Linked DNA regions of Homo sapiens: regions 2, 3, 4, 5 and 6 are each linked to region 1. The links are contacts of gene promoters, found by promoter capture Hi-C in blood cells and fetal thymus (Javierre and others, 2016). All regions are on one chromosome and are shown on one strand. Each heading gives the region's core, a stretch centred on a gene start or on the middle of the fragment in contact. The rest is flanking DNA. Distances are from core to core; before and after follow the strand shown. Region 1 holds the start of LY96 (lymphocyte antigen 96). Region 2 has its middle 11 kb from the start of JPH1. Region 3 overlaps STAU2 (staufen double-stranded RNA binding protein 2). Region 4 overlaps STAU2 (staufen double-stranded RNA binding protein 2). Region 5 overlaps STAU2 (staufen double-stranded RNA binding protein 2). Region 6 overlaps STAU2 (staufen double-stranded RNA binding protein 2).

Region 1 (4,976 bases), core at 1,279-3,778:
GGTTGCTTATAGTGGGAAATGGTATTTTGAGACCACTAAGGGTGTTCATGGGTGGTTGTCTTTTTTTTTTCCATCTTTTAAATTTATTTTAAAATTGTGTTTTTTAAAGAATTTACCATCTTACCCAGTTTTAAGCATAGAGTTCAGTGGTGTTAACTATATTCACCTTGTTGTGCAACAGATCTCTAGAACTCTTTCATCTTGTCAGCTTGAGACTCTATGCCCATTGAACAACTCCCCATTTCCCCCTCCTCCCTTGGACTTTTGCCTTTTTGAAAATGGCAGGGCCAAGAGCCACGGCTCAAACCTGTGGTCCCAGCTGAGCCCAGGAATTTGAGGCTGCAGTGTGTTATAATCACACCTAAGAATAGCCATTGCACCCCAGCATGGGCAACACAGTGAGACTTTATCTCTAAAAAAATGGAAAAAATCACACTTCTGTTGTAAAATATTTTTACCAACGTATGATTATTTTCTTCTTAAGTGTGCAGATTTTTAGGCCAAAACTCCATGCCATTTTTGGCTGCTAACCCTAAGCTATATCCTGTAAAGGATTTCAAGTAGCAAGATATCTAAAGGAATAGCTGTCTTTCTAAAATGGAGTGAGAGTTTTGAAATGAAATACATGTCATAACAAAAGGATGACATTTCATTATTAGGACTCAAAATGTTCTCTTGAGCTCTAGCTTGTTGTAGGTGAATACATTATTAAGACTGGTGGAGTCCCTGCCCACAGCACAGAATTACAGCTAGTGTCCCCTGTTTGGGGTCTTATCTGGCCCTGTTCTGTCCTGTAACTAAACCTGCTGCTGAAAAGAAATAGTTTCCATGAGACTGTTTACTTCAGATCTATAGGTGCAGCTCTCTGGGCCATGATAATTTGATTTGTTGTTGTTATTGTTGTTTTTTGAGATGGAGTCTCGCTCTGTCTCCCAGGCTGGAGTGCAGTGACATAATCTTGGCTCACTGCAAACTCCACCTCCTCGGTTCAAGCAATTCTCTTGCCTCAGCCTCCTGAGTAGCTGGGACTACAGGCACTTGCCACCATGCCTAGCTAATTTTTGTATTTTTAGTAGAGACAGGGTTTCACTATGTCGGTCAAGCTGGTTTCAAACTCCTGACCTCAGGTGATCCGCCCACCTTGACCTCCCAAAGTGCTGGGATTTACAGAGGTGAGCCACTGCGCCTGGCCTGTTTGTTTGTTTTTGAGACCGAGTCTCACTCTGTTGCCCAGGCTGGAGTGTAGTGGCCCAATCTTGGCTCACTGCAACCTCTGCCTCCTGGGTTCAAGCGATTCTCCTGCCTCAGCCTCCCGAGTAGCTGGGATTACAGGTGTGTGCCACCATGCCTGGCTAATTTTTATATTTTTAGTAGAGACGGAATTTCACCATGTTGGCCAGGCTGGTCTTGAACTCCTGACCTCAAGTGATCCACCCACCTTGGTATCCCAAAATGCTGGGATGACAGGCATGAGCCACCGTGCCCAGCTGAGAATTTGTTTTATAAAGCAGGAGGCCCCATCCTCTGGGGGCCGTGGACCAGTACCAGTCCATGGCCTGTTAGGAATCTGGTTGTGGCTTGTTAGGAAGTGGGCTGCACAGCTGGAGGTTAACAGCAGGTGAGCGAGCATTACCACCTGAGCTCCAGCTCCTGTCAGACCAGCAGCAGCATTAGATTCCCATGGGAGCAGGAACCTTGTTATGAAGTATACAAGCGAGGGATCTAGGTTGCGTGCTCCCTATAAGAATCTAATGCCTGATGTTCTGAGGTGGAACAGTTTCACCCTGAAACCATCCCTCCCCATCCCCTCAGTCCGTGGAAAAATTGTCTTCCATGAAACTGATCCCTGAGGCCAAAAATGTTGGGGACTGCTGTTATACAGAGCTGTAGGAGAGAAGAATAATGCAGAGGGAAAAGGAGTGCCTGTCTGTTGAGACTTTCAGGGGGACCTAGGGACTGGTTTTGTTACAGTTGACTGGGAATTGTCTTGTTTATTTTATTTTATTTTTCATTTAAAAAATTTTTTTGAAATGGAGTCTTGCTCTGTTGCCCAGGCTGGAGAGCAGTGGTGCCATCTTGGCTCACTGCAACCTCTGCCTCCCAGATAAAGTGAAGCTCCTGCCTCAGCCTCCTGAATAGCTGGGATTACAGGCATGCACTACCACACCTGGCTAATTTTTGTATTTTTAGTAGAGATGTGTTTCATCATGTCAGCCAGGCTGGTCTTGAACTCCTGACCTCAAGTGATCCACCTGCCTCAGCCTCCCAAAATACTGAGATTACAGGCATGAGCCACCGTGCCTGGCCAAAGTGTCTTGTTTTATTTTTAAGTCTTTGATCACTCTCATTTACAGTAAGTGTTTGAAGAGTACATTCTAAATCATTTTTCTCTCTTCCTTTACAGGAAGTGCTCAAATGTTGAGCACACACACACAAAAAAAGAGGAAACAGTTGGATAGGAACTCAGAAATCATGTGACTGATGACTAAGTTAAATCTTTTCTGCTTACTGAAAAGGAAGAGTCTGATGATTAGTTACTGATCCTCTTTGCATTTGTAAAGCTTTGGAGATATTGAATCATGTTACCATTTCTGTTTTTTTCCACCCTGTTTTCTTCCATATTTACTGAAGCTCAGAAGCAGTATTGGGTCTGCAACTCATCCGATGCAAGTATTTCATACACCTACTGTGGTAAGTAAAACCGCAAAACAAATAATTGTAGCATCAACTATTTTGAGGGTAAGTTTTCACGAGAACCGTACACTGTTGTGGCTGGAACACACGAAACATCAGTGTGTTCCAGCTGCTGTGGCGGACGCTGCCAGCAGGAAAAGCAATAGCTGGCAGCTGCCCCATGAGAATGTTCTCGACCACTCACAGAGCTTGTGAGTCTCTAAACTGTGTTGTGCTTGACCTCCAAGTGCTTCTGTTCCCTGCGTCATCTTTCTCTACCCTGAGCCCAGTTTTTGGTTCTGCCCATTTTTAATAAAACCATCTGCTTCTGAGCTTTCACCTCAGCCTTGACACTTACTAGTTCTTCTTCTTGAGATGGTAGAGCAGTCCCAGCTGCTTCCTGGAGTTGATTTCTGCTCTAAGCTGTGACTCTTGAGTGCTCTTGGAATCATCCCCCTCACTGGATGAAAGCCTGGTTCTGTCACTAGCTGTGTGACCTTAAGCAAAGTACTCCAGCCTTTTTAGCACTGAAGTGAAAGTGATTTTATAGTCTACTTGATAAGGGTGTTGTGAGGTGAAGTTTTTTAGCATAGGGTCACATAGAGACAATAATACTCTTAATTTTTTTTTGGAGTCAGCCATACCCTAATACTATTCACTGGCTGTGTCACTGTCCCCTGCCCCAGCTGCTCATTAGCAAGTGTCCTGGGATCTGAAGGCACAGTGTCAGGCCTGACAGCTGTTTTGGTTCGGTACTTTCCACCGTGCTGCTTACCATGGGTTGGCTGCCCTTTTCCACCCACTAGCAATAGCTGGGAGGTTTAAAGTGGTGCTTCCCAAAATACCAGTTCTTTGAGATTCTTTTGGGAAAATAGGATCTATGACCTAATCATCTGGGAGAGATTTACAGATGTACTTTGGGTTCTGAGAAGTTCTGCAATAAAGGCACCTGTTTAACCACATTTTCAATTTCATTTGTTGTTTGTTTGTTTGTGTTTTAGTCTGGAGTGTATGTTAACTCTCTTGAGAAACATGCTCTGCCAAATGCTAATATAAAGTGACTTTCGGGAAATTGGGATAATTGCCACATGTGAGGAGGAGACTTAGGAGTGTGGCCAGTCACACACCATGGCCCTTCTCCTGGTGGGTTGCACTGAATTCCCTCCAAACGTATGTCTAAAATCTCTCCATGCTGCAAGATCCTTTTGCATTCCCCTCTTCCAGCAAGGCTCCTACTCTACTTGGCCCCCACTTCCCTCTCCTCCTTTGGCTCTTTTGTACCATGTGCTAATTATGCCACTGTGTGTGTGTGTGTGTGTGTGTGTGTGTGTGTGTGTGTGACAGAGTTTTGCTCTGTTGCCAGGCTGGAGTGCAGTGGCGCGATTTCGGCTCACTGCAACCTCTGCCTCCCAAGTTCAAACGATTCCCATGCCTCAGCCTCCTGAGTAGCTGGGACTACAGGTGTGCGCCACCACACCCGGCTAATTTTTTTTTTTTTTGTATTTTAGTAGAGACAGGGTTTCATCATGTTGACCAGGATGGTCTCAATGTCCTGATCTTGTGATCTGCCCACCCCGGCCTCCCAAAGTGCTGGGATTACAGGCGTGTGCCACCTTGCCCGGTTTATGCCACTCTTTATATGGTTTTTATGGATGTAACATTTTGTATTATTATTTAGCTTTCAATCTTTTCTTAACAATAACTCAATTTGTCTTTTTAAAACATTTCACATTTTATCTTATTTTATCATTTATTTTTGAGACAGGGTTTTGCTCTGTTGTGCAGGCTGGAGTGAGTGGCATGATCTCCACTCACTGCAACCTCCACCTCCCTGGCTCAAGCCATCCTCCCAGCTCAGCCTTCCAAGTAGCTGGGACTACAGGCACATGCCACCACACTTGTCTAATTATTAATTAAATAATTTTTTTTGAGTTTCACTCTTGTTGCCCAGGCTGGAGTGCAATGGCATGATCTTGGCTCACTGCAACGACCGCCTCCTGGGTTCAAGTGATTCTCCTGCCTCAGCCTCCCGAGTAGCTGGGATTATAGGTGCCCACCACCACACCCAGCTAATTTTTGTATTTTTAGTAGAGACAGGGTTTTGCCATGTTGACCAGGCTGGCCTCCAACTCCTGACCTCAGGTGATCCGCCCACCTTGGCCTCCCAAAGTGTTGGGATTACAGGCGTGAGCCACCGCAGCTGGCCTAATTATTAATTTTTTTGTAGAGATGGAGTCTTGCTATATTGCCCAGGCTGGTCTGGAACTCCTGGGCTCAAGTGATTCTCCCACCTTGGCCTCCCA
Region 2 (4,976 bases), core at 666-3,165, 340 kb after region 1:
GCTTAGTTGCCTCAGTGGCAGAGATGGAGGTTGTACCTGGGCCCAAGAGCAGGGACTGCTGCTTATTGAGGTTGGTTTAACTACTCCTAACTTTGTAAGTCAGATCTGTTAGTAACAGAGAGTATTCCTTGCAAATATCAATCACCTACTTGGTGGTAAGTTGAGTATATTAGACTCATTTCAGCCTAGAAGAGCCAGTGGTTCATCCTTACTAAGGATAGACGTTCTGGGTATGGATTTACCTTTCCTCCCCACAGAGCCTCAGCCTGTACCAGCACTGTCCAGTGGCTTATAGAATACCTGATTCACAAGCGTGGGATTTCACACATAAACTCCAACCAGGGGACCCACTTCACCGTGAAGGAGGTGCCAGAACGAGCCCTGATTGTGGGGTCCGCTTCGTCTTAGACACTGTATTACTGCTTACCTCTGTAATATTTCAGGGGCTAACCTCATAGAATAATGGAATGGTCTCCTAAAGGTACAGCTATAATTCTAGTTTGCTGGTAATAATCTGCAAAGATGGAGTGGCATTTTTTGGGGTGTGATATATGCACAGAATCGGATTTCTCTATGACACTATCTCTAATAGGGAGGACATAGAAGCCTAGGAACTAAGAGGTAGAAGCAATAGTACCTCACTTATTATCACATCCAGTGTCTTTCCTATCGGTGCATCTCTGGACTTTGCAGGGTTCCCAGAGGGGAAGCACTCTTGCCAGGGGACAAAGCAGAGCTGCAAACTATGGCTCCTGCCTGGCAGATCCAGGGATTGTGCCCAGGGATCAGCAGGTAAGAAGAGGAATCACCATATTGGCAGGAATGATTGACTTTGATGAGCAGAAGGAGGCTTTTATATAACGGGGACAGAAAAGAATATGTGCAGACCCAGGTGATCCACTTAGGTGCTTCCTGGGACTCTATGGATCCCTTGTATCCATGGATGCAGTCATGTGGCAACCCTGGTCTGAGAAAGGTATGACTTACAAGGGGTTCAGACCTTCCAGAAATGAAGGATTAGGTTATACCACTAGGTAAGCCACTAGAACCTACTTATGTGATAGCTGATGGTGAGGAGAATGAAGTAAAGAAAAGGGAGAAGATGAGAACCATTTTTAGCCACAAGGCTAACTTCAGAAACAGGGACTGCTATTTGTCCCATTAACTTCCCTTATCAGAGCTTCCCTTCAGGAAGAAAGGCCCCCAGGAACTGCCCCCAGATACATGTGAAGACAATCTCTGCAGTGCAAGGGGAGATTGTGGTGGTCATAGATGTGCACCACTCAGATCTTCCTTCAGGAGAACTTGCTGTGAGAGAAGAGGTTGGTGAACATCCTGTAGCTGCTGCACCTTTGAATTCCAATAGCATTCATGCTGAGGCCACACTGTCTAAGCTGTTTCTAGCCAATAACCAAGCACAGTGGGATTCCAGGAACTGGGTCATTCCTTCTCAACACAGACCTCCTCTGATGGGTGAGATTTCCTGTGCTCCCCACTGACCTGGCTAAAACCTTTTAAGGGCTACACTGCAGTCTGAGCCTTTTCTACACAATTCTTCCTTCCCTGCTTTCCTTTCATGGGTTTCCCGCCTACTCCTGCTTCCTGTGGTCTTTATCCTGCATGTGTGTCTGATTCTATCCTGGAATCTGCTTCTTGGAGACCTTGAACTGTTACACACGGTGGTCTTTAAAGAACACACAGCTAACACACACATGCACACATACACACTTACATTTACAGGTGGTTCTTGGTCAGAGAGAGATGGAAAGTCTAAATCACAACTTACTAAACTGAGTTTAAAATCAGATTTCCTGGTTCTTAAAAAAGAATGGGGAAGCTTTCTATGTACTGATATGGAAAATCCCCAAGATCTATTAGATAGAAAAGAAAGCAAGATATTGAACAATGTATGTAGTATGCTATAGTTTGCTGTATTTGTACATATGTAAAAACCTGTAAAGATACAAATAAAAATCAAGGGGGTGAGAGTAGGAAAGCTTTGCTGAAGAGCAATTTGAAACTTGAAATTATAGTACTTATTAATAATTAAATTGAAATGTCAGTCTTCAGCATCTTAGCATTTTATTATTTTAGTTATTTGAAAATTCCATTCTGTATATGTAACTGAATAGAACCGCCGTTAGGCAGATGATGCAATAGCCTGTGTAAAGCAATAAATGGACTTGATAAATTTTAGGACCCTCCAAAACTTACCATCTGAAATGGGAAAAGACTGCCTGGGTAATACAGATGGTATGAGTGATTTCCGACTCACCAACTGATTGAATAATTCATAGACTGTCTCCCTGTCTGTGACAGAAGTGGACATTTAGAAACCTCCAGCTGTGTCAGCCCTGCCATATTGGTTGTTCTGAAAGTTTTGCTATTTCTAGAAAGAAGTATGCACCATCATTTCCTTCGATGTAACAGCCTATGCTAAATCATGCCTTGTTTCCACACCTCAGATCCATACTAAATGTTCCTTTAGGACTGATAACTTCATCAAAGCAAAGGTGAGAATCCTTTGGTGAGCATTTTCAAAAGATGCTTGTGTAGGTTCTGCTCTCCTCTAGCAAAATGACAGAGTGGCCCCATCTTATATATTCTGAGAGCTTTCCTAACAATCCTAATGTACTTATCTGATGGAGAATCATTATCATAGGGCGATTTCCAAAACTCCCCTGCTGACAGTCACCGAGGGGAACTTATTAAATACAGATGCTCTTTGACATACTATGGGATTGTGTCCTGATAAACCCATCATAAATTGAAAATATTGTAAGGCAAAAGTGTACTTAATACACCTAACCTACTGAATATCATAACTGAGCCTTGCCTGCTTAAAAGGTCTCAGAACACTTACATTAGCTTACAGTTGGACAAAATCATCTAACACAAAGCCTATTTTATAATAAAGTATTGAATATCTCATGTAATTTATTGAATACTGTATTGAAAGTGAAAACCAGAATGACTGTGTTGGTACTTGAAGTATGGTTTCTATTGAATGCATATTGCTTTCACACCATCATAAAGTCAAAAAAATCCTGAGTAGGGGACTGTCTGTATACACATGCCCAGGTCACCAATGCCAAGCCCACGGAATCAGATGAATTCTGATTCCGTGGGCTTGGCATTGAGGTTCAGGAATCTGTGTTTTCAGGAAATACACTGAGTGCTCTTCAGGGAAACATTGTTATAGGGTAATCCTCTCCTGTGGACTACCTTAGATTCTTTAAGCTAGTCAAATAAGTTCAAAGTTGTCTAACACTAGTGATCCCAACATGACTTTATTTTTTTTCACATGAATTAGCTCTCAAAGTGCTTTCATAGTTATAAAGAATATCCTTCTCCTTGTCAATTTAAAACCAAAATTCAAAGGTACTATATAATAGCATGTCTTCTAAGGATAAGTGTACAATGGATAGTTGACATTTACAAAACAAAACCAGCCATTATGAGGTGGCCTTGAAACCAAGACCTTAACAAAACCCTGATAACTAGGCCAAACCAGTGGGTGGACTTGTAAGTTGTCTTCTCTTGCCCAACATCTGGAGACTGAACTCAGGAGGTGCTGTCTAGGGACCACTGGTCTTGGGAAGTCTGTCTCTTTCATCCACCTAGGAGAAGTAGTGGGGCTCAGTATCTGGGATAAGTAAGCCCCAAAGAGCTCTGCTTTTAGGTGATGACACAGTAAAGTACTCCCTGCCCTAGCCCTTTGTGGTTTCCAGCCACTTTAGAATGGCTGGAACCCTTGATTGAGCTGACGAGTTTCATATGGCCCTGGACTAGCTGGACATTGTGGCAACTGGGCACATTGGCCTGTCCCTGTTTGTGAGTATCAGCATCTGGATTAGCTGGATTTCCTGTCTACCACTCCTGGGGGTTAAGAGCAATGTTGAGACAGGAGGGGTATAGGGTTGAACACACAGGAAGAGAGTATGTTCAAGTGATCCTGGGACCACCTACTTCAGATTTTTTTTCAAGATGCTCTTTATTGTTGGATGAAAAAAACCAAATTTTTCTTTTCTACTACTATAAGCGTGTGGTGACTGCTGAATCATATATATCCCAAGAACTACTCTGTCCAAGCAGTAGTGGAATTTTGCCTACAAAATACAGCTTCTGAGGTCATTTTCATACTGACTATGGTGTATATTTTGTCTCTGATTAATGTCTGAGGAGGATCATCTTCAAATGCTGTTTCAGTTTATGATTCTTCCTGTCAAAGGCCACAGGTTACTTATTCTCAAAATGTATTGTTCTTTTAGATTGTTCCATGTTAACATAATTCATTAATTAAAATATTTAAAAATGTTAGAAAAGGTCTTTTCCACTCCTTACAGCTATTTCAGTGATGTGAATATCATCTTCAAGATTTCCTTTTTTCATTTACTGAATATATATGTAGCAAGTACCTTCTAAATAGAGTGCTTTGTAATGGGTATAAGGTCGTTAACTCCCTGCCCTCAGGGAATTTACAGTCCACTGAAAGGATAGATATTAAATCAATATATCATTGCCAATTGTTGTGCTACAGAAGAAACAGTAGTGCTATAAAAAAGAATAGCAAGGGATACTTTGAGTTAGATTGCAAGATCAGGGAAGGCCTCCCCATCCATCCCTGCACCCACCTACCCATCCATCCATTCATTTGTCCATTCATCCACCATTTATTCATCTATCTGCCTGCCTGCCCATGCATCCATCCATCCAACCATCCATCTACAGTCTATTTGTCCATTCACCCACCCATCCGTCTGTCTATCCATTTATCCACTATCCACCCACCCGTTCATCCATACATCATCCATCCATCCATCCATCCACCTACCCACTCACCCATCCATCCATCACTCATCCATCCATCCACCCACCCATTCATCCATCCATCATCCACCCACCCACTCACCCATTCATCCACCCACCATCTATCCACTCATTCATCCATCCATCCATGCATCTACCATCTATTC
Region 3 (4,976 bases), core at 1,707-4,206, 340 kb before region 1:
CCGCATGAAACACGAACGGCAAATGCAGGACTCCCAGCTGAACAGCCTCTTCTCGGAGTCACTGCACGCACCCCTGGCTTTCCACTCACCGTCTTCTGGCCTTGCCAATGGCCTGCACCTGCTGTGCCCTTGGGCACCCCTGCCTGGGCCCCAGACTCTGATGCTGTCCCCTGGCTCCTTCTGGGGTCTCTGCAAGTGGAACAAGAGGCCCTGGCCTCTGAGTGGGCCTGCTGCTGTGGGCAGCCTCTGGCGTACCACCCCCCAAAGCCCAGGAAGTGGCATGCATACGCTGGGACCAGCCCTGTCCACGGGGCCCTGGGGCCTGGTGTGCTCTGCCGGAGACGGGATGCATTTTGAGGAAATGCCTCTGACTCCAGGCCTCCCATACAGGTCTGTGCAGATTGCACCTGGCACCTACCCAGAGAACTCAGCTGTTCTGTTTACATTGTGGAGGCACCTCTCACCCTGACCCACGCAAAGGTTCTGGAGATTTCTGGAGAATATATTTATTAAAGCCACCTCTTCACCAAAAGTTACCAAAAGGGTTGGTTTAGGAAGTAAATGAAGGGTCAGTGTAGAGTCAAACGCAGAAGTGGGCTTGTTATAGGGAGGGCTTTCAGCATATGATAAAAGGGTAATTTGTTTTTTAAAAAGTGTTGGAAAAACTGGTTTTCCAGTTGGAAAAAGTAAAGGTTGTAGGCTTTGTGTGTAAAAAAGAAAACCATGAAGGATTGGAAGGGGGAAAAAAAAGAAATTATATAAATAAAATTATCAAACTCAGGCAGATAATTTCATAGAAGTATGCATTACTTACTAGCAAATCTTCTCATTTTGGAAAATGTTTCACTTTTTAATTTTTTTAGACACACAAATAAGAAGAAAAACTTCCACATTCAAAAGAAAGACTAAACCATGCACAAATGAACCCTTTCTGTTTCCTTTAACATACAAGAAAGTGATTTCATGAAATTTATTAAAACTGTTATTTCTGGCCAGGCGCGGTGGCTCACGCCTGTAATCCCAGCACTTTGGGAGGCCAAGGCACACAGATCACGAGATCAGGAGTTCCAAGACCAGCCTGGCCAACATAGTGAAACCCCATCTCTACTAAAAATACAAAAAAAAAAATTAGCCAGGCGTGCTGGCGGGCATGCTGGCAGGCGCCTGCAATCCCAGCTACTCGGGAGGCTGCGGCAGGAGAATCACTTGAACCTGGGAGGTGGAAGTTGCAGTGAGCAGAGATCGCGCCATTGCACTCCAGCCTAGGTGACAGAGCAAGACTCTGTCCCAAAAAAAAAAAAAAACTGTTATTTCTGTCCAATTCCAAGCAACCAAAGTACTTCATGTCATTAAATATGTATGTGTAACACACATACACATACATATATACATATAGATATTCACCAAACCATTATTCAACTATCTGGCCACTTCATTCTACTCAAAATGCAGATCCTTAGCAAAATTTATGACAGAAAAAAATAAATTCTGAAGTAAAAAAATTCACCAACTAGATAAAACTCGATGTTTTCCACAGTTAAGGGGACATCTTAGGGCGTAATTAAAGCCCTGCTACTCTTACTTTGCCCCAAATTCAAACAATAATATCGGTTTTCAAGATAATAGCAATTGAAAAGCATCAAAGAAAGGAGCAAGCAATATGCAAAGGTGCACTGACAAAAACAAGAAATAAGATGACAATCTGACTGACAACAATGATTTGGAAAGTAACTAAAAGCACACTTGGGTACTCTAGAAACAGATGTCTAGGATTATCTGGTATAAGGACAAACCATGTACATATCTCATGAGGCTTGTAATACTTATTGTTTATAAGGTTGATAATGAGTCAACAGCAAGGATTCTTCATGCTAAGAATTGTGGCATTTTCTATTTAAGGATATAAAAAATATATGCCATAACTTTTAGAAATATTTCTATCCAAAATTACTGAACTAAGTAAAGTTTTAGGTTCCAAAAAAAAGTGAACCCTCAGCAATGTGGGGAAGCTAGCTGTCCAGAACAATTATCCTTAAGGAGTGTGGTTAACTGTAATTCTTCCCTTCTTCTTTACTTCTTTCAAAAGTTCTATGACTATTCAAACCATCTCATAATCTTTGATGTTAATAGAGGGTAATGTGTTTTGGGTTGTGGGGACCAGTATTTAAATGACTGGACATAGAATTACTTGGGGAAGTTTTAAAAAACAGTGCGGTTCAAGCTCTGCAACCAGAAATTCTGATTTAATTAGTCCACATAAAGTCTGGGCATCAGAATTTTTAAAGCTGCCCAGGAAAGCCTGATGTTCAGTCAGTGTTAGGAACCACTTAGGTAAACAGTTTTCTTCATGACACCTTTAGGAGTCTTCAAGAGAGATACAGTATGCAGCATTTCCAAAATTTGTCTTCAAATCCCTTTTACCATGGAACATCTTATAACACTGACTTAGGTAACTCTTCATCTGAAAATCAAGGTAAATATTAAGTTTAGAATCAAGTTGTATAGCTTTTCAAACTTTGTAAAAGTTCTAATGTGGTTAGGAAGAGGGAAGGGGAGGGAAAAAATAAAAGGATGACTTACTTTTATCTTGCTACCACATTTTTTATATTACAAAAATTCCAAATGAAATATTTTAATTTTAACTTAAAATTTCATAGTTTATTTTAATCATGCTTATATTAAGCCTGTGACTCAAAAGCATTTACATGTTGTGAAAGCTAATTTCAAAGATAAAACCGTGCTGCCCTCTAATGGTTCAAGATAAATATTTTTACCTATACATAGTAGTAAGGTGATAAATACAATTTTATTATTTTATAAATGGGAGGATTACATTATATACCAGAAAAGAAAAATAAGATTTCAATTTTTGGTATAACTGAGCCCAAAAACTTAACTATGACTGCTATGTTCAAGCTCAAGACCCTTTTAACTGTCCAGGCACACTGGCTGACCCCTGTAATCCCAACACTTTGGGAGGCCAAGGCGGGAGGATTGTTTGAGCCCAGGAGTTTGAGACCAGCCTGAGCAACATAGTGAGACCCCATCTCTACAAAAAATAAAAAATTAGCCAGACATCATGGTGTCCCAACTACTAGAGAGACTGAGGTGGAAGGATCACTTGAGACCAGAAGGTCATGGCTGCACTGAGCCGTGATCATGCCACTGTACTCCAGCCTAGATGACAGAACAAGATTGTCTCAAAAAAAAAAAAAAAAAAAAAAAAGAACTCTTTTAATTATCAAACCTTTTTTTTTTTTTTTTTTTTTGAGACGGAGTTTCGCTCTGTCGCCCAGGCTGGAGTGCAGTGGCACGATCTCGACTCACTGCAAGCTCCGCCTCCCGGGTTCACGCCATTCTCCTGCCTCAGCCTCCTGTGTAGCTGGGACTACAGGCGCGCGCCACCATGCCCGGCTAATTTTTGTATTTTTAGTAGAGACGGGGTTTCACCGTGTTAGCCAGGATGGTCTCGATCTCCTGACCTCGTGATCTGCCCGTCTCGGCCTCCCAAAGTGATGGGATTACAGGCGTGAGCCACCGCGCCCGGCCCAAACCATTTCTTAAACCACCACATTTGCCTATGCATGTGTAAATCAGGATAAAAATGTACACCTCTTCTGCATTCTGCAATAGCCATCTCTAACTTAGCTTCTTTTTCAAATAAATCTATGGCAGTAGTGTTCAAACTTGAATGCTTGTACCCTACAAAAACATTTTAGAAAGTTACACATATTCTTGCATATTTCTTCTTACAGCTAAAGTTTTAATTCACATTTTTAAAATTTCATTAAGTACTTGCAAAGGATGTAGTTTCTAATTTACTGTAAATATTTACATTTTAAAATAAAATTATGTCACTCTTTTAAGTGTATCCAAAAACTGAACTATCATAGCAAGCTGACATCCACCTTTATCTACTCAAAAAATACATAAATTCTGTTAAATACAACAGAAATTTTACACCAGCTGTATCTTGTTTAACTTGCATTTTACTGCACTCTCTCCATTTCATCCTAATTTCATATTTTATAACTAAAAGTCTTTTATTCCTCATTCTACCATAATTCTATGCAACAAAAATAGATATATTAATTAAAATTATAGGAGTTTGTACTTCCATGTAAGTTAGAAAATATTTTGTGCAATGAGCCATTATTGAAATTATTAGCAGATAATGAAACAAATATTATAATTTTAATACATCTTTTTTTTTTTTTTTTTTTTTTTTTTGGAGACAGAGTCTTGCTCTGTCGCCCAGGCTGGAGTGCAGTGGCGCGATCTCGGCTCACTGCAAGCTCCACCTCCTGGGTTCACGCCATTCTCCTGCCTCAGCCTCCCGAGTAGCTGGGACTACAGGTGCCTGCCACCACACCCGGCTAATTTTTTGTATTTTTAGTAGAGACAGGGTTTCACCGTGTTAGCCAGGATAGTCTCAATCTCCTGACCTCGTGATTCGCCCGCCTCGGCCTCCCAAAGTGCTGGGATTACAGGCATGAGCCACTGCGCTGGGCTAATTTTTTTGTATTTTTAGTAGAGATGGGGTTTCACCGTGTTAGCCAGGATGGTCTCAATCTCCTGACCTTGTGATCCGCCCGCCTCAGTCTCCCGAAGTGCTGGGATTACAGGCATGAGTCACCGTGCCAGGCCACATAATTTTTAAACAAAAAGTAAAATATTAATGGACATGAAACTCACTGACATTTACAGAGCTTTTTTTCTTTATATTGATGTATCTAAGAAAGAATATTTCTTACTGCTAAAATGAGATAAGTTCTCAATTCTACTCTTATTTCACTTATTTCAGGTATAATCACTAAGAAATGTAATTCACATTAAAAACTAAATCACTCTGAGTTTTGTTATAACAAGGTCACTCAATTTTTTCTATGCCAAAACACACACTGTGATCTACCATCAGAAATTATTTTTAATGACGTGGCAATTGATGTTAAGTCCTCTCACAATTTGCTGAAAGC
Region 4 (4,976 bases), core at 714-3,213, 320 kb before region 1:
AAATATGAGAAATCATGGTTGTAACAGCCTACTGAGTAATGGTTAGGTCTGCGCTTCTGTGAGCAGAAAGAGCTTTTCAGTTGAAACATGGCTTGGTAGCTTACTAGTACTTTCCGATATTCTTTTTACCTTTTTGTGATCTGCAGAATATCATAAAATAAAGACACTCCAAAAAAGGAAAAGTCCATATTATCTATTCATGGAATGGCCTAAGGCACATCCTTTATTTATGACTTTGGAGAAATCATAAATAAAATTATTGTACCCCTCACAACAACCATAAGAATTAGATCTTGGAACTAGAAACTGCCAACAAAGAAAAAATGCCGACATTCTTAACAGAAAATTTAGAAAAGAAAAAAAGAAAATCAAAATCACATGATCCCTGTCTAATTTCACATACTAACTCCTCTCTCCCTTGGTTCACTCTGATCAAGCCACATTGGCCTCTTGAGGCCAATGCCAGGCACACTTCTACTGCGGGGAGTACTTGCTATTTCTTGAGCCTGGAATTCTCTCTCTCTCTCTCTCTCTCTCTCTCTCTCTCAACATTCACACTGCTTTTTCTCTCTCTTCCTTTGAGGTCTTTATCAAAAGCAACCTTCTCAGTGACTAACCACTTCTTATTGACTGACTACCTCCCCTACAAGAACATGAGCTCCATAAGGACAGGGATTAGTGTCTGACTTTTCATTGCTTTAGCACCAGACTTTTTAAAAGTAATAAATTTAGAAGTAATAAAAGTAGTTTATTTCCATTTAAAAGTAATAAATTCACTAGTCAGAACTGTAGCAAAATTTCAATAAAGGACCACAGATACCAAAATAAAACAAATATAAAGATGTAATACTCTCATAAATCTATTTACTAGAGTACATTAGCAATAAAATTAGTATATAATAGGCTAGGTGTTCCTTACTCAGGTGACTAAAGATATCTACTGTGTTGAAGTGGGCAACTAGCTTTATTTATTTACATTGGGGAACGTCAGATTAAACATAAAGGCAATGCGTATATTATACAGAGAAAGAGAAAATAAAACAACTACAAGAGAAATGTGTTGTCCCTTGTGCCTCCTATGCGGTGTGGACACCAAGCTGAGGGCTGGGAAGCCTGCCATTGTATGCATCACAATTAGAAGCAGAGATGTTACAGGAGAGAATGAAATATACCAAGGAAGCCAAGAAAAGCTGAGGGTTTAGGCCCATTAGCAAGGGGAAGATAGTAGATACACTCTGGAAGCATTACCTAAGGGAGAAAAAGACGGACTAGATGCCACCAACTGCAAGTTTCCACACCTCGTGGACAAGGCACACGACCACAAAGAAAAGAGGAACTAAAGGACAACACAAGATGCCTCTACAGAGGTGAGGTATATAGATGCCTCTCCCTTCCTAGCATAGAGAAAGCTCCCCCAGGCATACCTGAGAGGAAAAGGGAAGGGCAGAAGTCTAATACAGTGTGCAAATTCTTCTTAGAGAACCTAAACAATAATATTTAAAGGAACTATTTACAATTGAATAGAACTAAGTTTTAAATGGATACAATTAAAGATAATTTTTCCCCTAGCAAGCAAGAAACCAAAAAGTATCAGATTATTTATGGACTAAATAAATATCTTCCCTACACATCTAAGTTATGGTATCAGTAAATACATAAAACCATAACAAAAGCACCAGCAAATATCTGATCAAATATAGGAAAGAATTTCTCAGGCATAAAAGAAGTGAGAGAAATAAAGAAAAATCAATAGATAAGACCACATAAAATTTTAAAACTACAGGATATTAAAAACAAATACACAATTAAAAGCCAAATTTTTTAAAGCAGGAAAATTACAACAAACAAAATAGACTGAAGGTTAACATCCTCAACACATAAACATTTGAAAACTGGTGAAGCAATGGAATAAAAATCAGCAAATTAAAATAGACAAATCAAAAAGGATAACAAATATCTAAAAAAAAAACTGTTCAGCCTCACTAGTAATCAATAAAATTGAATTTTAAAAACTACTACTTGATGGCCACGTGAGGTGGCTCATGTCTGCAATCCTAACACTTTGAGAGGCTGAGAGAGGCGGATAACTTGAGGTCAGGAGTTTGAGATCAGCCTTGCTAACATGGTAAAACCCTGTTTCTACTAAAAATACAAAAATTAGCCGGAAATCGCTTGAACCCAGGAGGCGGAGGGTGCAGTGAGCTGAGACCACACCATGGCACTCCAACCTGGGTGACAGAGTGAGACTTCATCTAAAAAACAAACAAACAAACAAAAAAAAACAAAAAAAACACTACTTTTTAACTACCAAAGAAGACAAAAACCTTTTTAACTCAGTGTTCTCAGAATAGAATAAGCATTCTCATATACTGTAAGAAATTAGTACAAACTTTAGTGCAATTGGGCAATGCTTTATTCTTTTTAAAGAATATTCCCCTTATAGTAATATAAGGAAGGAAATAATCAGTGATGTGAACAAAGATTTACATAGTGATTATTTACTGCAGCAATCTTAACAAAAAAGAGGGCATAAACAACCTAGATAAAAAAATAGACATACATTTATATACCTTATGAAGCCATATGAAGCATTATGTAGCCATCAAAATCATTTTGTGCCAGGCACAGGGGCTAACGCCTGTAATCCCAGCACTTTGGGAGGCCGAGGCGGACAGATCACTTAAGGTCAGAAGTTCAAGACCCCCAGCCTGGCCAACATAGTGAAACCCCATCTCTACTAAAATACAAAAATTAGCCAGGCATGGTGGCAGGTGCCTGTAATCCCAGCTACTCAGGAGGCTGACACACAAGAATCACTTGAACCCGGGAGGCTGTGGGTGCAGTGAGACAAGATCACACCACTGTACTCCAGCCTGGGTGACAGAGTGAGACTGCGTCTCAAAAAAAAAGAAAGAAAAGAAAAAAAAATTCTTAAATATATGACAAATGGCCACTATATTAAGTGAAAAGAGAGTGCTTGTTTTGCATATACAAGATACACAAATTATGATATATCCATACAAAGTACACTAACCAGCAATAAAAAAGGGCAAAACCCAGATATAAGCAACATGGATGAATCCCCAAACAAGAAAATCATTATACAAAGTAAAAGAAGCCAGATGCACATAAATACTGTATGAGTCTAGATATAAAAAGTTCAACAACAGGCAAAAACTAGTCTATGATAATAAAATAGTGATTATTTCTGGGAGAAGGATGTGTCAAAGACAAAGAGGTCTGAGGAAACTCTCAGAGGTGATTGGGAACATTCTGTATCTCGATCTGAGTGGTGATCACGTGAGGCTATACGTATGTAAAAAGTCATCAAATAAAGTATAAATACATATATACATACATAAAATAAAGTCATCAAGAGGTATACTTAAGATTTGTACATTTTACTGTATGTCTATCATACCTTCATAAAGTACTACAAAAACTGCATATAAAGGACAACTTCAACTTGGTTAAATATATTTAAATGCAAAGAAAAAAAGAATGTAAAGTACATGAAAATATAAAAGGTGGCAAATTCTGGGATTACATTATTTACATTTTTTCTTTTTTCCCTATAAATTACAAACATTCATGTTCACTAATGTATTTAGACAAATCAAGAAAAAAACTGAGCTCTGCTTGGTAAATGAATGAGAAAGTCAACACTATAAACTGTGAAATGACTTTAAGACTTGGTCTTCCCTGCAACAAATACAGGGCCCTCATGACACAATAAAAACTAGTTCCTTCAGATCTTTTACGTTTGTGGGGTAGGGGAAAAAAAAAAAAAACTAGTTCCTGAAAACTGGGTTTCTTTAAGTTATTAATTTAAATATTCCTTGTGAACCTGCTTTATCTAAATTCCATGCACAATGCCCAAGGTCAATTAGATTTACAATGAAAATACTCTTTTGAGTGTGAGAAACTTTTATAACATGGATAAAATAATAATTAAGAACAAAACCAAAAAAGACATACAAACCTCTGATTGTACATGCCCCGAAAGTTGTAATTAGCTCTATAATTTGGGAATGGCTTTGGATCTAATGGCCTGTAGATGGCAGGCTCTCCCCTTTTCATAGCAAGCCCATTCAGTTCCACAGTTGGAGTTATACTGCCTGTTTAAAAAAAAAACATTAAAGGCACACAAGTGAAATATCTTCACAATTAAACATGCAAGCTATATTTATACAACGCTTAAATACCATGGAAGAAGGTAAGAATGGATGGACCACCTGTATGATTTTCTAAGGAACTGCGAAAACAAAGTAAAAAACCAAGAAAATAGTTCCTAATAAAATCTTGGGATTTTGCAATGTTTTCTGTACATTAATGACAAAAAATCTGAGTGTGCAATCATTACTATCAAAACATAGTAAACAGATGATTCTTAGATTGCTAACCGTGAATATTATTTTTTAAAGTACTGCATTTCATCATTACTTACCCCAGAAAGCTTGCATGTATTTAATCATTAAAAACATCATCTGTGAATATTTTTATTTATACTTTGGTAATTAAATAACTAAGCATTGGCAAGAAAGTCATCAGTGGTTCTTGGACTTATCTAATGAAAAAAGTTTTTTGAATTTTTTCTATAACCAACAAAACAGAGTAAATATAAGCAATGTTTCCTGAAACTAAAATGTCATCGAATATATTCCTAGCAAATATTAAAGATACGTACAAGTAGCATTATCGATAAAAACAAAAGACTGAAAACAACCTAAACAACCATCAATGCAGCATCAGTTATATAAATGTCCATAGCATAAAACACTGAACAGCTATAAAAGGAGGAAGACTACTACACACCTTGCTTCTTTTATTTTACTTAATATACCTCGGAGGTTATACCTTAGCAGTGTAGGGTATAATGTTAAACGAAAAAAAGCAAGGTACCAAATAGTGTGTGCTTTATATTATCTTTTGTCTAAGAAAGGTGAAAATGAAAATATAAATATATATTTGCTTAC
Region 5 (4,976 bases), core at 1,760-4,259, 300 kb before region 1:
TATAGCAGCACAATTCACAATTGCGAAAACATAAAACCAGCCCAAATGCCCACCAATCAACGAACGGATAAAGAAAATGTGGTGTACATATATACCATAGAATACTACTCAGCCATAAAAAGGAATGAAATAATGGCATTTACAGCTAACTGGATGGAGTTGGAGACCATTATTCTAAGTAAAGTCACACAGGAATGGAAAACCAAATGTAGTATGTTCTCATAAATGGGAGGTAAGCTACAAGGACACAAAGGCATTGAGAATGATACAATGGGCCGGGCGCGGTGGCTCACGCCTGTAATCCCAACACTTTGGGAGGCCAAAGCAGATGGATCACGAAGTCAGGAGATGGAGACCATCCTGGCTAACATGGTGAAACCCTGTCTCTACTAAAAATACAAAAAAATTAGGCCAGGCACAGTGGCTCACACCTGTAATCCCAGCACTTTGGGAGGCCGGGGTGGGCAGATCATGAGGTCAGGAGATCGAGACCATCCTGGCTAACACAGTGAAACCCCGTCTCTACTAAAAATACAAAAAATTAGTCAGGCGTGGTGGCACATGCCTGTAGTCCCAGCTACTTGGGAGGCTGAGGGAGAAGAATTGCTTGAACCCGGGAGGCAGAGGTTACAGTGAGCCGAGATTGCACCACTGCACTCCAGCCTGGTGACAGAGCGAGACTCCCCCTCAAAAAAAAAAAAAAACAATGGATTTTGGGGATCTGGGAGAAGGTTGGGAGGGGAATGAGGGGTAAAGACTACACATTGGGTACAGCATACACTGCATGGGTGATGGGTGCAACAAAATCTCAGAAATCATCACGGAAGAATTTATCAATGTAACCGAATACCACCTGTTCCCCAAAAACTATTGAAATAAAAAAAAAAAGATAATGACATATAATGTTGTTCGTATTGTATGCAATTAGAACAACTCTTTAAAATTATTCTTAGGAGCTTAAAATTAGAACAGTAATTTACTTAGCAGTATTTTACATGCAGGTGGTTTGCGGAATTTGTGATGGGGTTTCTTTCTTTTTTTTTTTTCTTTTGAGACAGAGTCTTGCTCTGTCGCCCAGGCTGGAGTGTAGTGGCGTGATCTCGGCTCACTGAAACCTCCGCCTGCCAGGTTCAAGCAATTCTCCTGCCTCAACCTCCTAAGTAGTGGGGACTACAGGCACGCGCCACCATGCCCAGCCAATTTTTGTATTTTTAGTAGAGACGGGGTTTCACCATGCTGGCCAGGCTATATATAAATATATAGTTTTATATATTATATAAATTTATATAAATTATATTTATATAATTATGTATAATTATATAATATATACAATATATTATAAATTTTTTAATTTAAATATAAACTTAAATATAAATTAATTTAAATATAAATTAATTTATATTTCTATTAATTTACATTTATAAAAATTTATATTTATATTTATAAATATAATTTATATTTATATTTATAAATATAATTTATATTTATAATTTATATAATATAAATATAATTTATAATTTATATTTATAAAAATAATATATTTATATTTAAATTAATTTAAATATAAATATATATTTATAATATATAAATATATAATATATAAAATAAAATATATATAATTATATAATATATAAAATATAGTTTTTTATATATATAACTATATATTTAAACTATATATTTAAAAAGAGAAATTAATCATTTTTTGTAATTTTTTTTTTGCAGGGGTAGAAACAAGGTCTTGCTATATTGCCCAGGCTGCTCTCAAATTCTTGGGTTCAAGCAATCCTCTTACCCAGGCCTCCCAAAGTGCTAGGATTACAGGTGGGAGCCACTGCACCAAGCCACTATCATTTTTGTTTGTTTGTTTTTTGAGACAGAGTCTCGCTCTGTCGCCCAGGCTGGAGTGCAGTGGCACGATCTTGGCTCACTGCAACCTCTGCCTCCCGGGTTCACGCCATTCTCCTGCCTCGGCCTCCTGAGTAGCTGGGACTACAGGCACCCGCCACCATGTCCAGCTAATTTTTTTGTATTTTTTTAGTAGAGACAGGGTTTCACTGTGTTAGCCAGGATGGTCTCAATCTCCTGACCTCGTGATCCACCTGCCTCGGCCTCCCAAAGTGCTGGGATGACAGGCGTGAGCCACCGCGCCCGGCCTACTATCTTTACTTTAAAAAAAAAAAACTCAGTCAAATTTTCTGTGCTTTGTATTCAAATATGTTTTTGCCAACATTAAAAAAGTAAACAATGCACTTTTATAGTATCCACTAAAGCAAATTTTAAAAACAATTACAATTACTTTCTTCATCCTCTCACCTTCATTTTTTTTTTTTTTTTGAGATGGAGTTTCGCTCTTGTTGCCCAGGCTGGAGTGCAATGGCGCGATCTTGGCTCACTGCAACCTCCATCTCCCAGATTCAAGCAATTCTCCCGCCTCAGCCTCCTGGGTAGCTGGGATTATAGGCACCTGGCTAATTTTTTATATTTTTAGTAGAGACAGGGTTTCACCATGTTGGCCAGGATGGTCTCGAACTAATTACCTAACATGATCCACCCGCCTCGGCCTCCCAAAGTGCTGGGATTACAGGCGTGAGCCAACGCACCAAGCCTCCTTCAGTTATTTTTATGCTACCGTGTGTGTGTGTGTGTGTGTGTGTGTGTGTGTGTGTGTGTGTAGGTATGGGCATATGTGTACTATTAATACTTGCTCACTCTGTTACTAGCCTACTATAAATGAAACATACAACAAGCAGAACACACATAGCAGACAACATAACAGAAGGAGTCACTGCCATACCTGGGTTATTGTTAACATTACTTTTGGGTGGCTTCTGAACTGGTTTGGGAAGCGTAGATTCAGTCAAAGCTTTATTGGCAACAGCCTGCTGAGCCTTCTTTATACTGCTGCCTTCGGATTCCCATGTCTGCTCACCAAGACTCAGCTGCACTGAGAACATCTTAGAAAAACATAAATAGACAAAGAAAACATTAAGACTTTTCCAAGAAATAAAATTGGCTGTCTGAGAGAAAAATAAACATCATAGAATCAGAATTTTAGAGCTAGAGGTGACCTTACCTACAGATCATCTGCAACAAAATCTTACTCTACCTAGTGAAGAAATTTTAAGAGAGTACCAAATTCTGTTCTATCCTATCCAAAAGCTTAGTAGCAGATCTAGGTGTACATTCTGGGTAGAATAAATCAAGAAGCAATCTTTCCTCTAAATGGAATCACAATGTTAATGTCATTCAAATGGTCCTCACAAAAGCAGAATAAGTAGAAATAATAAGAGAAACTGTAAGAGAAGCCAAAAGACCATGTGTCTATAATACTTTCATAAAATCTAATTCCTTGAATGTTACATTTAGCACAATCTAGGCAATGAGTCAGGCAATTCTATTAAATATTATACTACCAAAAAACTCTGAATCTCCACAACAAACATTGAGCCAATCACTAAATTCTGTCCATTTTAACATCATAAATATTTCTCAAATCTTCTTCCTCTCTCTGCCAACTGGATCCAGCCTTTCATCATCTTTAGCTTGGACATAATATTCTTCCAGCTGATCACTGCTAAAACTATCTTTCTAAAACACAAATCCAACTTCATCACCCCAATCAACATCAGGTTAAAACCCTTCAACTGTTCCTGTTTTAGCATGGCACAAAGGCTCTACCTGTGCATCCTCATCTCACACACATCCTTCCACTAACATGCTCTGAATTCCATTCTCACTGTATTTCCATATGAGCCCCCAAACCTATTCTTCACCTTTAAAATTCAGAATCAAGTTACATGATATGCGCATAATTGGTTTCACTCCAGACTGCATATTACTTTCTAGGAATACTAAGTATTAACTTAAAATTACTTATTACAAAAAAATATATATTATTGTAGAAAGGAGATCAGATAGAAAATACCTTCACTAAGTTAGCATCACCAATAATCATACAAATTGACGTCATGTGCCCCCTGATACAATCCAGTGAGAAGTATATATCAACAACCATGTACAATTCTTGGCCAAAAATGTTTAATCTGAATCTAATCACAGGGAAACAACCAGAGAGATCTAGATTATGGGACATTCTATAAAACAAATGGCCTAGGCTCCAAAAATGTCAATGTCATAAAAGGAAAAAAAAAACAAAGAATGCAGGGAGGACACTAAAGAGACATGAAGGCCGTGCACAGTGGCTCACGCCTGTAATCCCAGCACTTTGGGAGGCTGAGATGGGCGGATCACAAGGTCAGGAGATTGAGACCATCCTGGCTAACACAGTGAATCCCCATCCCTACTAAAAATACAAAAAATTTAGCCAGACGTGGTGGCGGGTGCCTGTAGTCCCAGCTACTCGGGAGGCTGAGGCAGGAGAATGGCATGAACCCAGGAAGCGGAGCTTGCAGTGAGCCGAGATTGCGCCACTGCACTCCAGCCTGGGTGACAGAGCGAGACTCTGTCTCAAAAAAAAAAAAAAAAAAGGAAAAGAAAAGAGACATGAAAAGACATGATAAATACCATGCATGATCCTTCATTATATCTAAAATGGGAAGGGGAAAAAAGCTGTAAAGGACATTCAGAGGACAACTGGGGAAATGTGACTATGAACTATACATTAAGTAATAGGTTTAGCCAGGATTAAATTTCTTGTGTGATTAACAGTATTGTGATTATGAAGAACGTCTTTAGTCTTACAAGATAGATATGTAAGTATTTAAGAGTGAAGTGTCATGGTAGCTGAAATTTACTTTCAAATTGTTCAAGGAAAAATTATATGTCAATATAGAGGGAGCAAGAAATAAAGTAATGTGGCAAATAAATTAACGATCGGTGAATCTAAACCATACATGAGTGTCTATTACACCACTCTTTCCATTTTTTCTGTAGATTTTTAATTAATCAAAATAGAGAATTGGGATTTGTCATTTGAAATTCACAACATAAACATACCTGTTTAAAGTGATTAAATT
Region 6 (4,976 bases), core at 1,377-3,876, 280 kb before region 1:
CTCAAAATGACTGTACCAAATTACCTTCCCCTACCGTTTCTCCTCAAGCTCAAAAACATGGAATATAATCAAATATTTTAATTTCTGATAATTTGATATTTGACAAACAGTATCCCATTATTGTTCTTTGCATATTTTTCTCCACTACTATTTTATGTTTGTTTGGGTTTTTTCTTGTTCAGAGACAGTCTCACTATGTTGCCCAGGCTGGACTCTAACCCTGGGTTCAAGCTATTTTCCCTACTCAGCCTCCCAAGTAGCTGAATTACAGGCTTCTATCCTTTTTTTTTTTTTTTTGTATTATAGTTACCAACTTTTCCTTTTATGGTCTGTGCTTTTTACGTCTTGTTTAGGAAGTCCTCTCTAACTGTCAAGATCTCAATGATTTTACTTAAACTCACTAAGCCTTCTATTCTTTCTATAAAATGAGAGAAATAAATCTATCCCGCTTAAGTCCCAAAGTTGTTGTGAGATTAAGAGTTGTAAATGTATGATATGGTTTTCTAAACTATATCGCAAATACAAGGTACTATTATAGCTTCAGAATATTTTTCTAATACCACATTATTTTAACCTATATTTTTCCTTTCTCTCATTTATAGACACATTTAATTACTTTTTTCTTTCACTTCCCATAAAAAATGCCAAAATATATTTTAAAATCTAAGCATAAAACATGCAAGTGGATTACTTCCTGCTCATTTAAACTATAGTCACAATAAATACAGTTCAATTGTAGCCACAAGAATACTTAAAATGAATGAAAATGGCTGGCTTTAGGAACTTCATCTACAAACTTCCTAGGCCAAAGTTTAATATTAAAAATAATATTCTTTTACATTTCTAATACTCTTAACAGGCCCAATAATTTGTACAATGGCTTGATTGTGATAATTATGATTAAGAAACTATTTTATAAGAAAACTACGTAAGCACCTGGTAAGACCTAAGTAAAAAGAAGGAATCTAAGCAACCAATTGTAGGGCCAAGACAGCTGACAGTAGATTCTACAATTAAGCCATTGTAAGTGGCTTGCAAAAAAAAAAAAAAAAAAAAAAAAAACTAGTAATTATTACTTTTGGGAAAAGTACAAAAAAGACAAAAGTCAAGACAGTTTTGAGAAAACCTGCATTTTACCTATTCCATTGCATGTCACACAAATTTTATAAAACATCCTGTTCAATTTGGAAAGTCAGTCGTTATAAGAAAATACAAGGTAACCTGAGACGATAATCAGTTTTGGCCTTTGCATACCATTGCATGAATTCAAGTGCAACAGACAGCACAGCCAATTTAATATCAAAAAGCAAAAGCAGAATAATTGGTTAAAATGAGAAAATATTAAAGTCTGATAAAAATCAGCCAATTTTGCATAACACAAATAGCATTTATACCACCACTGTGTAATTTTCATAATTCAGTAATGCTGCATATTCATCTGTTACAATGCAAAACATATTAGAAGCATACAAACATAGTGTGAAAATTTTATACTATGAAAATTGCTAATAGCATAGGTTCTACACATATTAAACAGCGATTTAAATGGTTCATTTATAATGAACCCGTTTGGTATGAAAACCTAATCTAAATCCTCTAAAGGAAAATGTTAACAAATAACATGGTATAAAACTTATATTCCATTAATTCTGACTTCCTGCTTCATAAAAGTTAACATGAATCCAATAACACATTTTAATGGGTGACTGAAGTTTTAGTGTGAGAAGGGTCCAAGATCCCACTTTGATAAAGCTTCAAAATTAAAATCAAAATGTTTAAAGTTGATAACTTAGGAAATAATTAGTCATAGTTGTTTTATTTTAAAAAGGGATTAAAACAAATAGTTGTTCCTTTATTTAATGAGAAATCTTAATAGGATTCTTACTTGACAGAGAGCTCAGTAATACAGCAATAACTTTTAAATTACACCAAAATTTAGATAGAGCATCTATAAAAACAAACTGGTCTATAAAATCTGAGACACATAAAAAAGTTATATAAATCTTTTTTAGAGAAGTCAATAGTGCAAAAAAGTGAGAAATGCACATAATGTTACACAGGTATGCATTTTCAAAGACCTATAGATGTTATCACTGAAGATAGTTTGAAATAGTCTTCAAGTCCATTTGGTGGCTGGAATAGTAGAGACCTACTTAGAAGTAAATAAAATTAATAAAAATGGATTCACAATCTCAGACTCTGCCACTTTGAAAGAACAACTGCCACATGATGGTTAAGAGCCTGTTTTGGATATCTCTGTCACTTACTAATATCTGTGTGACCTTGAGAAAGTACTTAAATCTCACTTTCCCACAAAGTAAAATAGAGATAATAGTTGTTCTTATCTCACTAGATAATTGCATGGATTGAATGAGATAATACCAAACACTGTTAACAATGATTAAAAATTCATTATTATTCTGATTTAAACATTTGTTAAAACAATTACACTATCATCAAATATTAAAACAGTGACATAAAAAGTCATGAAAAAAGTTTATAAAACTAAGTAAAAATATTCTTAGCCAAAATATTCTGTTACGATAAATTGATTTTACTCATACAAATATACTTCTTGGCTGGGCATAGTGGCTCACATCTGTAATCCCAGTACATTGGGAGGCAGAGGCGGGAGGATCGCTTAAGGCCAGGGGTTTGAGAACAGCCTGGACAACATAGCGAGACCTCATCTCTACAAAAAAATAAAAATATTAGCCATATGTCATGGCACATGCCTGTACTCCTTGACACTCAGAAGGCTGAGATAGAAGGATTGCTTGAGCCCAGGAGTTCCAGACTGCAATCCAGCCTGGGTGACAGAGTGAGATCCTCTCTCAAAACAAAACAAAACAAAAAACAAGTATATTTCTGTAGTAGTCTGTGAAAAGCATGTATTTGTTATTATTTTTTCCACTGACTTATAAACCCATAAGTTCGTTTCCACTGAAAAATTCTCAAATATGATATAAATTATATTAAAGGTTTACATGTGCTAGGAAATATTCTACCTTCACTGATACGAAACTTGGTTAGATATAACTTACAACTTTGATAAGAAACACTGGTAAAATACATATTTATAATAACAGTATTTGCATATCCAACAAAAACATAAATATACTCTATTTTTAGATTCACTCTATTTTTATGTCTTCACAAAATGTCCTGGACTCTGGAATTTGAATCTTCATTTTGCCTGTTCATTTGTATGTGTAGGAACCAGTGAAGAAACACAGCAACTGTGTTCAAGTCACTGAACAAGCTACAAAATAATGTAGCTCACAGGCAAAATGATCTGTCCCCAAAGGAGTTCACAGTCTGATAGAAGAAACAGACACAGACAATAGACAAACACAATAAATCACAATATAAGTACTATAATAAGGCTGTTACAAAAACTCCTTAGACAAAGGGTGTATGGAAAGGCAAGTTTTAAGAGGTGGTGATTAGATAAGGAAAGCAAAAATTCACTTAGGTAACAAGGGAACGTGAGAGACAGTCCAAGCTTTTCAAGGAGTATAGACACAGGAGAAAGCACATAAAACAACATAACTTTCTGGCAAATGCAAGCAGAAAACTGGCAGAATACAGAACGCATGAGAAAAAACAGCAGAATAAAACTATGTGACCAGAATTCACTAGAACACCAAAAGTTTCCTAAACCAGAACTTAAAGTAGCATTTTTTAAAGTAGCTATATTCCAGCCAGAACTGTTGCTACTAAGGTCACAGACTACCTCGCTTCGCAAGGCAAATCATTCCAAAGAATCCTTTCCATCCTTGGTCCCAGAAATGACTTAAACACGGTTTCTTTCCTTTTTTTTTTGAGACAGAGTTTCACTCTTGTTGCCCAGGCTGTAGTGCAAGGGCGCGATCTCGGCTCACTGCAACCTCCACCTCCTGGATTCAGGTGATTCTCCTGCCTCAGCCTCCCGAGTAGCTGGAATTACAGGCATGCACCACCACGCCCAGCTAATTTTGTTTTTTTAGTAGAGACGGGGTTTCTCCATATTGGTCACGCTGGTCTCGAACTCCCGACCTCAGGTGATCCGCCCACCTCAGCCTCCCGAAGTGGTGGGATTACAGGCGTGAGCCACCACGCCCGGCCTTAAACACAGTTTCTATGTCTCTTTACTGGTTCCCCTTTCTCTATTCTCTGCTATTGGAGGGAACTCATCCTAATTCCCAAGTAAAATAAGAAAGAAAAAAGTCAAAAGAGCAAAGGACCCTTTCATGGGCTCTTGCCTTCTAGGAGCAATCTGACAGATATGTCCCCAGCTATTAACTAAAACAAACCCTCTATTTTCAAATTAGACCCTAACATAAGGCTGTCCAAGCAAAATTATCGACAAACTACCCAGGCATCAAACTGCTCCATTTTTAACAGTCTGTCCATTAGGAAAAAATTTAAGTTCCTCTCTCACATAAACACAAAGATAAATTTCAGAAATATTAAAATGCAAAATACAAAAATTTCACAAAAACTAACGGAAATTAGCTAAATATCTGTCATACTCCTGTAACACAGAAGGCCTTCCTAGATATGAAAAGGAACCTAGAAGCCATAAAGGCAAAAACTGATAGTTAACAACATAAAAATAATAAAACTTCTCTAAAGCAAAACATACCACATATGACACTAAAGTCTAAGCCATTTTGAGTTACTTTTTGTATACAGAAGAAATACTTGCAATATGTGAAGAAAGGCCAGGCGTGGTGGCTCACGTCTGGAATCCCAGCACTTTGGGAGGTCAAGGCGGGCAGATCACCTGAGGTCAGGAGTTCCAGACCAGCCTGGCCAACATGGTGAAACCCCGTCTCTACAAAAATATACAAATTAGCCAGGCATGATGGCGGGTGCCTGTAATCCCAGCTACTCAGGAGGCTGAGGCGAGAGAATCACTTGAACCCGGGAGGTGGTGGTTGCAAGTGGAACCAAGATCGCACCACTGCACTCCACCCTAAGCAACAGAGCGA

What was found. Contacts are between HindIII fragments. The CHiCAGO score rates a contact against its expected background, and 5 or more counts as called.
Region 2: a contact is called between a fragment that was not itself captured here and the fragment with the promoter of LY96 in region 1, in 2 of 17 cell types (fetal thymus and M1 macrophages). The highest score is 6.2, in fetal thymus.
Region 3: a contact is called between a fragment that was not itself captured here and the fragment with the promoter of LY96 in region 1, in 1 of 17 cell types (activated CD4 T cells). The highest score is 5.9, in activated CD4 T cells.
Region 4: a contact is called between a fragment that was not itself captured here and the fragment with the promoter of LY96 in region 1, in 13 of 17 cell types (activated CD4 T cells, monocytes, M2 macrophages and 10 more). The highest score is 17.5, in activated CD4 T cells.
Region 5: a contact is called between a fragment that was not itself captured here and the fragment with the promoter of LY96 in region 1, in 6 of 17 cell types (endothelial precursors, activated CD4 T cells, M0 macrophages and 3 more). The highest score is 6.3, in endothelial precursors.
Region 6: a fragment that was not itself captured here is called in contact with the fragment with the promoter of LY96 in region 1 in 7 of 17 cell types (activated CD4 T cells, non-activated CD4 T cells, endothelial precursors and 4 more); the score reaches 9.2 in activated CD4 T cells.

The regions. Positions count from the first base shown.
Region 1 is chr8:73,988,864-73,993,839 of GRCh38, forward strand. It overlaps LY96 (lymphocyte antigen 96), which reads left to right and starts at 2,529. Exons shown (of 5, transcript NM_015364.5): 1 at 2,529-2,691. The coding sequence starts at 2,580. RefSeq lists enhancers at 2,771-2,870, 3,241-3,310. The HindIII fragment of the contact is 3,298 bases long and covers 1-2,559 here.
Region 2 is chr8:74,329,640-74,334,615 of GRCh38, forward strand. No RefSeq gene overlaps it. Among named protein-coding and RNA genes, the nearest start is that of JPH1, 11 kb to the left of the region's middle. The HindIII fragment of the contact is 160 bases long and covers 1,836-1,995 here.
Region 3 is chr8:73,651,436-73,656,411 of GRCh38, forward strand. The region is part of intron 6 of STAU2 (staufen double-stranded RNA binding protein 2); the gene reads right to left. It also overlaps the pseudogene VENTXP6. Among named protein-coding and RNA genes, the nearest start is that of STAU2, 93 kb to the right of the region's middle. The HindIII fragment of the contact is 9,482 bases long and covers 1-4,976 here.
Region 4 is chr8:73,669,125-73,674,100 of GRCh38, forward strand. It overlaps STAU2 (staufen double-stranded RNA binding protein 2), which reads right to left. Exons shown (of 15, transcript NM_001164380.2): 6 at 3,983-4,118. Among named protein-coding and RNA genes, the nearest start is that of STAU2, 75 kb to the right of the region's middle. RefSeq lists a silencer at 2,013-2,202. The HindIII fragment of the contact is 4,982 bases long and covers 1-4,454 here.
Region 5 is chr8:73,685,860-73,690,835 of GRCh38, forward strand. It overlaps STAU2 (staufen double-stranded RNA binding protein 2), which reads right to left. Exons shown (of 15, transcript NM_001164380.2): 5 at 2,795-2,954. Among named protein-coding and RNA genes, the nearest start is that of STAU2, 58 kb to the right of the region's middle. The HindIII fragment of the contact is 296 bases long and covers 2,862-3,157 here.
Region 6 is chr8:73,710,096-73,715,071 of GRCh38, forward strand. All of the region lies in intron 3 of STAU2 (staufen double-stranded RNA binding protein 2), which reads right to left. Among named protein-coding and RNA genes, the nearest start is that of STAU2, 34 kb to the right of the region's middle. The HindIII fragment of the contact is 1,753 bases long and covers 1,751-3,503 here.